Linked DNA regions of Homo sapiens: region 1 is linked to region 2. Evidence: promoter capture Hi-C in human tissues and cell types (Jung and others, 2019). All regions are on one chromosome and are shown on one strand. Each heading gives the region's core, a stretch centred on a gene start or on the middle of the fragment in contact. The rest is flanking DNA. Distances are from core to core; before and after follow the strand shown.

The links. Contacts are between HindIII fragments. The study calls those that stand out against the background at their distance.
Region 1: a fragment that was not itself captured here is called in contact with the fragment with the promoter of HP in region 2 in 2 of the 25 tissues and cell types used here (H1 embryonic stem cells and pancreas).

Annotation. Positions count from the first base shown.
Region 1 is chr16:72,124,660-72,129,751 of GRCh38, reverse strand. PMFBP1 (polyamine modulated factor 1 binding protein 1) reads left to right here. Exons shown (of 21, transcript NM_031293.3): 13 at 519-686; 14 at 958-1,095; 15 at 3,620-3,784; 16 at 4,347-4,514; 17 at 4,818-4,985. Among named protein-coding and RNA genes, the nearest start is that of DHX38, 33 kb to the right of the region's middle. RefSeq lists enhancers at 558-1,358, 3,695-4,196, 4,741-4,800, 4,811-4,920. The HindIII fragment of the contact is 3,275 bases long and covers 12-3,286 here.
Region 2 is chr16:72,051,830-72,056,345 of GRCh38, reverse strand. HP (haptoglobin) reads right to left here and starts at 1,841. Exons shown (of 7, transcript NM_005143.5): 1 at 1,689-1,841; 2 at 103-185. The coding sequence starts at 1,693. The HindIII fragment of the contact is 10,372 bases long and covers 1-4,516 here.

The DNA.
Region 1 (5,092 bases), core at 400-2,899, 74 kb before region 2:
ACCAGCTCCCATTACCAGTAAGAAGCATTTTCAATGGTTAACCTTAAAATTAATCAAATGACAATGTTGTTCTTTCTAGGATTCAAAAGCTATTCTTATCAATTTATTTATTTTTTAAATAGTGCCCAGCAGTAGGAGATAATTGTCAGTCAATTTAAAGTCTTTGATCTCTGAGTTACTCTTTTTGTTCTCTTCTAAGATTTTTTAAACTTCATTCAAAAAGGTTTTTGATAAAGATTTGGAATCTTCCTAATCTTTGGGAAGAATTGGTAAGAAAGTGGGAGAGAAAGCTGGTGCTTAGGAATTAGATCAATAAATAAAATAAATTGGTATATCTGACTGAACAAAGAAAAAATGTTACAGGCGTTGGAGGAAACCTTTTATTTTACATATGCTATATAACTAAGGAATTGTCTTCTTCTTCATCTCAGCCATGCCCTGTGTGCAATTGTCTGTATTTTTCCCCCAAATATAATATAGTCTAAGACAGTCTTTCAGCTCAGTCTTTATTTTTTCAGCACAGGGAGCAAGGCTCCATCAAATGCAAGTTAGAAGAAGATCTTCAGGAGGCCACAAAGCTTCTGGAGGACAAACGGGAGCAGTTGAAGAAGAGCAAAGAGCATGAGAAGCTGATGGAGGGAGAACTTGAAGCTTTGCGGCAGGAATTTAAAAAGAAAGACAAGACGGTGAGTGGGAGAATCCCAGGAGAGCTGGGTCAGGAATCCAGAGCGGGACATGACCCCACCTGGGCCTCCAGGGATGCGGAGGCCCTGGATGCTCAGAGCTTAGGAAAGACGGGAGGGACAGTGGGAAAGGCCAGCGAGGAGGGGAGCGAGAATGCCTGAGCTCCCGCAGGGTGGAGATAGAGCTGGGTGAGAGGGAGGGTGGAGTGGGGCTTTTATAGTTATCTGAGATTAACACCTCTTTGCTGTGCTTTGTTCTTTAATGAGGGAACAGTTGAAAGAGAATTCCAGAAAGTTGGAGGAAGAAAATGAGAATCTCCGAGCAGAGCTACAGTGTTGTTCTACACAACTGGAATCCTCTCTCAACAAATACAACACCAGCCAGCAAGTCATCCAAGACTTGAATAAAGAGGTGAGTAGACAGGAACCCCAAGGGAGTGAGGAATTTGAACCCTGTGACCCTTGACCTGAAATCTGTACCCACCTCTCCTCCACACAGAAATGCAGCTAACTGCTCAGCCAACTGCGGATCCTGGGCCACCTACAGCTCTACTTCCCTCCCCATTGGCACCTGGTTGCTGAGCCAGAGAAATGTTTCTTCCATATGTGGAAGGTCTCATCTCATATCTGGTGGAGCCCCAAGCTATTTGGGCTTTGGCATCAAGTCTTCCAATGTTACATTTTAGACCAGAGTTGAGTGAATCCATTTTGGGGGGCAATTTGCTAGGGAACACTTCCAAAACTTGTCACAAAGCACAAAAAGGAGATGAAAGGGGGGACAGTTATTTTTCATTACACAAGTAAAAATGACAGAAAGGAGTAAATAGCATCTGACATATGCTAAGCACTGTGCTTGAATTCAGTCGTCATTTATTTGTCGTCCACTTAAGCTCTTTACATGGCTTCCATCTGCTTTACTGCCAAAAAGAAAGACATGATAGAGGAAAGAAAGATGGAGGGCCAAAGTCACTGACCAGCAAGTGATGGAATCAACCACTATTTGAACCTGAATTATCCAGCTCTAACACCTGTTCCCTTTCTCCCTCATCATAAGCAGCCATACTTTCTCCAGCTAAATCCATTCCATCTTTCTGGGCAAGAGAAAAATATAACACCTTGGTAGTTGGTCTCTTGGGCTACAAATGAAAGGCCAAGCAGCCCTTATTCCCTCATAATATAAAAATAAATCTTAAAGTAGTATGACTTTTCTAAGTATAAAAATAGCACTGCCCAGTAGAACTTGCTGCCTTTCTGTGATGATGGAAAAGTTGTATGTCTGAGCTGATGGAATGAATGTGAGAGAAAGTGAGGAATCAATGATGACTTCATGAAATTCACCTATAAAACCATCTAGACCTAATACCATTGACAGCAGAGAGAGTAGGTCTTTTATTAGAACTTTTACTAGAACTTCTTGGTTCTATAATTTACATACTTCTATATGTAGATTTTTAGAATCTTTCTCCAAGCTAAACCACTCATGTTAGCAAAAATTTTTAAAGCTTCCATTTTAGCTTCTAGCTTCACTGTAATTTTTTTTCACCATCCTCAGTTTTAGTGTCTTACCTCTATACTGACATTTCTCAGTTCAGCCATCATTTATCAAGCATTGACAGTGAATTATAGTTTCTCCAGTGATTCCTCTGGTTTACTGGGCAGACCCTGCTGACTCCATGTTTTTCAGAAGTCCCCAGAAAAGATGCACTTCTGTTTTCAGAAGACCAAATTATTTCATCTTTAGGAATAGTTTCACCACCAGGGCATGTAAAATATGGTGTCAGAAGTCCAATTTACCACTTTTCATCTCACTAATTCCCAGGGCCAGAGGTACTCAAAATTGTATCTGAAAAAGTAATAAACTTGAAGCACTGATCAGTTACTGGAGATAAAACAAGAAAACCCAAAAGAATGTGTTTCTGTGTGCATGGCCACTTTCAGATGCAGGTGTGCTAGAATACCAAAGAATACAAGTCAGGCATATGAATTTCTGAGGTCTCCCTCTGGCTTCCAGACTCAGAAGCAGATCTCTGTCCTGTACTTAAAGTATATAAGAAGGCTAGTTTCTGTGTGTGTCTGTGACAGTAACTCATAGTCGTATAGTAAAACAAAGCCCTTTTTACACATATCACCTCATTTGATCATCATAAAAACTCCACGAAACAGTTAAAATGATTTCAATTTGTGGAAGCAGAAACTGAGGCTAGAGAAATAAGTAAATGATAGAACCTGGACCTCAACCCAGATTTTTCTGACTCCAGATCCCAACTTCCTTTTAACTATACCATGAATACTCATTACGATGTTGAAAACAGACTTCAGTTTTTAAACACACTTCTACCAGAACTACATGTTCCCTAACATGTTGATCAATTGATCCCTAACTCCAAAAATGCAATATTTCACGTGACAGAACAAAGACCATTTTTGAGCATTTCCTGAAACTCTGTCATGTGCCATGCCCTGAGTTACAGCAATGGGGAAACAGCAGGAAACAAAACACAGGCACAGTCCTGCTTTCTGGCACATCAAGTCTAGTGAATTACATCAGGAACTAAGTGAGGCATAAAACACAAAGGACATGTTGTTATCATGTCCACTAACCTCAAATCGGATTCCAGGTCTTTATCAAAGGCTGCAGAGTATGTGAAAGGGACTTTTTTGTGTACTTGGCATATCATGCCCCAGCACCGCTGGTACTCCTGCTGTTTGAGGGAAATGCTAACTAGAAAGAGAGATGTGGCTGAGGGGTGCAAAAGAGCCTGGAAAGACAGCTCTACCTTTTACAGTGGTGAAGTGAAGATGTGAGTGTTAACACGGACTCTGCAGGTTGCTGCAGACAGGAGAGAGCTTGGCTCTTGTTCATTTCCTATAGGCACAGAGAATGCCTCTATGACCCTGACCTGGCACCCTGACAGTTCTGCTCTCCCTCCTTAAAGATAGCCCTTCAGAAGGAGTCCTTAATGAGCCTGCAGGCCCAGCTGGACAAAGCTCTGCAGAAGGAGAAGCACTATCTCCAGACTACCATCACCAAAGAAGCCTATGATGCATTATCCCGGAAGTCAGCCGCCTGCCAGGATGACCTGACACAAGCCCTCGAGAAGGTGAGGCCACACCCTCTAGTCTCCAGGGCTGTTTTCAGGCAAGGAAACGTCAAGGTAGCGGGAGAAGCACAGGAGCCAATTTCCTGCCTATTGACTGTCAATGGGGCCATCTCAAACCCTTGTGTGGGCTGGGATGTCTGTGCAGAGAAGGCCTGCTTCCTCTTTGTGAGGCTTGGAGTTGGGTGGAGGGCGGAGGAAGAGGACAAAGATCAAAACCAAATCTAGCAAGCCTTTCTGCCCATGGGTGACTCGGGGGCAAGGTTTTCCCAAAGTCTGGATTGTCAGGGAAATTCATGCCCCATCCTGTGCTGATCATGGCTGGCCCATCAATTCATGGGATTGGAAAGAGAAGAAATGGAGGGAGTGGGTAGGAAGGAGAAAGCAGGGTGCAGAAAACCAACCACTGTCATTTCCCACCCCTCTCTGGGAGACTAGGCAAGGTGACCGTCCGTGTCACCCTGGGCAGAGGACAGGAAGGGACTGGAACCCTCCTCCATTCAGGACTCAGCAGAGAGGGTCAAAGTCTCTGACAGCCATTCGTCCTCTTTGTCTTTTCCGGAAGCTCAATCACGTGACCTCAGAGACAAAGAGCCTGCAGCAAAGCTTGACACAGACCCAAGAGAAGAAAGCTCAGCTGGAAGAGGAAATCATTGCTTATGAGGAAAGGATGAAAAAGCTCAATACGGAATTAAGAAAACTGCGGGGCTTCCACCAGGAGAGTGAGCTGGAGGTGAGGAGCTGCCAGGGGCTTGGGCTGCCTTCCTGGTAGGGGTCCACAAGGTCACCTCTTGCATCCAGAATTATTTAGCACTAAGTCATTCCCTTGGGCTGCTAGGTTCCCTCCACTTTCTTGGCTCCCTGAACTTCAGACAGAGGCAGCAAAGATCGGAGCATGGGTGCCCTCTGCTGGCCACTGAGAAGAAAATACCCCCAACACGTATCCCAAGGCCCAGGAAGCACCCTCTGGCCTTGTGGGTCCTGCGGTCAGGGAGGCCAGCTGGAGTCCCCCTCCTCACTTTGCTCTCCTGAGTAGGTGCACGCCTTTGACAAGAAGCTAGAGGAGATGAGCTGCCAGGTGCTGCAGTGGCAGAAGCAACACCAGAATGACCTCAAGATGCTGGCAGCCAAAGAGGAGCAGCTCAGGGAGTTCCAGGAGGAGATGGCCGCCTTAAAAGAGAACCTCCTTGAGGACGATAAGGAGGTGGGCATGCCTTGGCTTCTGCGTGCCTCCTCTCAGTGCCTCCAGGCACATCCTATGACCACCCAAATGCCAGACAGCCCTTGGTGGGGGTGGGAGAGCCTGGGAGC
Region 2 (4,516 bases), core at 592-3,091:
CCAGAGGTCGAGATAAGAAGGGGGAATTGGGTGTTCTCAGAGAGAGTGCAGACCCGAGAGGGTCAGAGTGGGATGCACACTCCTACCCAACCAAAGACTGACCTGCGATATCCGTGACATCATTGCCTGAGTCCACTGCAAAAAGCTGTCCCCAGAGCAGGAGGGCAATGACAGCTCCCAGGGCACTGCAGAGAGAAGACAAGGAGGAGTGGAAAGCTAGTCTCCCTGCTTCACAGCACATGCATGCATCCACACACACATGCATGTACACACACACACACACACATGCATACACACACACTCCTCCCACTTAGCAGCCAGAAAAGAAAGTCGATATATGGAAGTGCTAGGACCAAGAAATTGCCCCCACACCTGCCCATACACACTTTAGCAGCTTCTGAGCATACCAAGCTTCCAGCAAGCCCTGTCCTGCTGGGAATTCTGCAGAAGCTTCAGAGAGGGATAGAAAGGCACATAGGTGGAGGGGTGGGCTCAGTTTCTGGCTGCATTCAGGAAAGTACATTGGCAATAATACAGGAGCCCTCCAGGAAAGAGAAACCTCCCTCAGACACCGCAAAGATAGTGGTAATAAAATGTAGATAACTCAGAGATGGGAACTTTGGGCTTACTGTGCTATTCCTCTACTTCTTGATATTTTCCGTAATAAAAGGTTCCTTAAATATATAATTTTAAACACGTGGGTATTTCTAGTATTTTATAATAATTCACCTTTAGGAAATGGTATCTGAAACCCCAAAATGCCAGAAGGTTACCTGGAAGAGAACTGGTGTCCAAAAGCAGGACGGTGGCCATGGGCATTGACCCACAGGTGCCGTCTGCCAGTTCACCATCTCACTAACAAATGCCAACCATTCGGGCACTACTTGCTTCTATTAAAATAGTTTCTAGGCCAGACACGGTGGCTCATGCCTGTAATCCCAGCACTTTGGGAGGCCAAGGCAGGCAGATCACGAGGTCAAGAGATCGAGGTCATCCTGGCCAACATGGTGAAAGCCCGTCTCTACTAAAAATACAAAAATTAGGTGGGCATAGTGGCGCACGCCTGTAGTCCCAGCTACCTGGGAGGCTGAGGCAGGAGAATCACTTGAACCTGGGAGGTGGAGGTTGCAGTGAGCCGAGATCATGCCACTGCACTGCAGCCTGGTGACAAAGCGAGACTCCATCTCAAAAAAAAAAAAAGTTTCTAGTCTTATTATTTCAACATTTCAAAAAGTGTTTATTTTTATAAGATCTAAGTGCCTTAATTAGATGTATCCCAGGTATTAGTGTGTATCCCAGGTACTAGTCAATTAATTGTGTCATTCAAATGTGTTACTATTAGTCTTCCTTATTGTACATTTTTAAAGAGGAAAATATCTGCTAATAAATATACTCAGGATGCCAGGAAGCCTACCACGGGAGCTGATGACATACCCTATAAAGTCAAAAATGTAACCTGAAGGAAAAAGACACTCCTGAGAGTAAATCTTATCTCCTGGGAAAGACAGCAGCACTGTCTTCTATGGATGCAGAAAAGGAGAAGATTTAACACACTAAGCCCTTTGGTTCACTATAATTTAGCCCATTTGCCCGTTTCTTTGTTCTATTTCTGCATCTCTACCGATGTATGCAAAAAAGACTGAAATAAAGAACCAGAGGAAAGGCAGGAGGGAAAGCTGTGGACCCACCTCATCTTGGTTGGTCTTGCCTCTGGAAGAGCAGTGCTGTGGGGCATCTGCTGGTCTTTTTATGCTGCCACTAGCTCACTTCTCCCCCTTCTCCATTTCGTAATTCCTGTGTCTACAAACTTTGGCCCTGGTAAGGTCACTATCTTTTCCAGTAACAAAACCACAAACAATACCCCTGTTAAGAGTTGAGCTCTTGCTTCACACTTGATTTTCTTGTGATGTTCTATTACAAATCCCAAGAAACCTGGCAACTCTATGACCCACAAACCTGCCAAAGTATTTCCTGAAATCAGCAACTGGGCAGGACAGGGCGGCGGCAGGAACCATCAATCTGTCTCTTTATCTTGGAGGATTTTCACACTGCAGAAAGGCTCATTTTGAGTTTTTTCAAACCCATTGTAGACATTTCTGCAGCCTAGCTTAGGTGGGGCTCTAAAGAAAGTACTTCCTTTTCACAGTAATTTTCTCCACCTTGTGTGTGGCCATCTCCCTATTGCTTAAAAGCTCTCCAGCCTGAAATCAGTAAATGTGTTTATTGTGTCTTCTCTGATTGCTCTTTGCAAGAAATCACACAACTAGTTAAAGCTATAGTGTAGACTGACACAGACTATACTCAATGGCAGTGGTTCTCATGGTTTTATAGTCTGGTGATTAGCCTAAATAGGCAGATGAGAAAAATCAATATGTCTCAGTCAAATGTCTGCACCTGTGTGTATCCCAGGTACTAGTCAACTGAAACTTAGTAGCAACTCAATACAAGGTTGATTTATTCATTAAAAAGGGTTAGTTGTTCTTAAATTAGAGTGTACAAAAGAATTACTTTTGGATAATCATGGTGACACTGATATAATAGCAAAGTAACTAGAAACAAGACAAATGCCCATCAACAGGAGGAAGGGTCAATACTGCATTGTATGTGGATATAATGGAATATTATACAGCATAAAATGAATAAACTCTGCAAGAACATGGATCATCTTATAAACATAATTTTTGAAAGAAAACCGCAAGTTTCAGAAGATTACCTTCAGTATGATGGCAGTCTTCTAGAGATCAAAACCAAGTAAAACTTGGCAATGGATTCTTAGATAATGACACCAAAATCACCAGCAATCAAAGAAAAATTAGATAAATTGGGCTTCATCGGAATGAACATTTGTGTATCAAAAGACAGTATTAATAAAATGAAGACAGGCCAGGCGTGGTGGCTCACGCCTGTAATCCCAGCACTTCGGGAGGCTGAGGTGGGCGGATCATGAGGTCAGGAGTTTGAGACCAGCCTGACCAATGTGGTGAAATTCCATCTCTACTAAAAATACAAAAATTAGCCAGGCATGGTGGCGCATGCTTTAATCCCAGCTACTCGGAGGCTGAGGCAGGAGAATTGCTTGAACCTGGGAGGCAGAGGTTGCAGTGAGCCTAGATCGCACCACTGCACTCCAGCCTGGGTGACAGAACAAGACTCTGTCTCAAAAAAAAAAGTGAAGACAGTCTACAGAATGGGAGAAAATATTTGCAAATTCTATATCTGATAAAGGGTTGTTATCCAGAGCATATCCTAACTACAACAACAAAAAGACAAACAATTAAAGCATGGGCAAAGGATTTAAATAGACATTTCTCCAAAAAATATACATAAAGTGCCAAAAAGCACATAAAAGATACTCAAGGCTGGGGAGTGACTCACACCTGTAATCCCAGCACCTTGGGAGGCCGAGGTGGGTGGATCACCTGAGGCCGGAAGTTTGAGACCAGTCTAACCAATACGAATATGGTGAAACCCCATATTTTCTAAAAATGCAAAAATTAGTCAGGCGTGGTGGCATGCATCTGCAGTCCCAGCTACTACTTGGGAGGCTGAGACAGGAGAATTGCTTGAACCTGGGAGGCAGAGTTTGCAGTGAGCTGAGATCGCACCACTGCACTCCAGCCTGGGCAACAGAGCGAGACGTCGTCAAAAAAAAAAAAAAAAAAGTCACTCAACACCATTGGAAAATGTCAATAGGGAAATTTGCAAATCAATACCACAATGAAACACCACTTCACACCTACTAGGATGGCTACAAATTTGTGTGTGTGTGTGTGTGTGAGAGAGAAATGTTGGCAAGGATGTGGAAGAGTTAGAACCCTGGTACATTACCTTGCTAGTAAGAATGTAAAATGGTGCAGTTGCTGTAGAAAACAGTTTTATCGTTCCTCAAAAAGCTAAGCATAGAATTGCCATCTGACCCAGCAATTCCACTTCAGGGTATACACCCAAAGAATTAAAATCAGAGACTCAGAGACGTGTACACCAATGTTCATAGCAGCATTTTCACAGTATCCAAAAGGTAGAAGCAATCCAAGCGTCCATCCACAGACAAATGGATAAACAAACTGTGATATCTACATACAATGGAATATTATTCACGTATAAAAAGGAATGAAGTTGATACGTGCTACAACATGAATAAACCTTGAAAACATACTAAGTGAAAGAAGCCAGACATAAAGGGACAAATATTACTTGATTCCACTTATAATAAAGTATCTAGAGAATAGGCAAATGCATAGAAGAAAAAGTAGGTTAGACTTTACTAGGGGCTGGGAGAAGCAAGAAATGGGAAGTGATTGCTTAATGGGTACAGAGTTCCTGTTTGGGGTGATGAAAAAATTTTGGAAACTGATAGTGGTGATGGTTGCACAACATTGCTGGTGTAATAAATGCTGCCGAATTGTACACTTCAGAATGGTTAAAATCGGAAATTTTATGTTACAAATATTTTAGCACAAAAAATTCAAGAAGTAAATAAGTAAACTTATTTTTATTGGAGAAAGAGAAAGAAAGA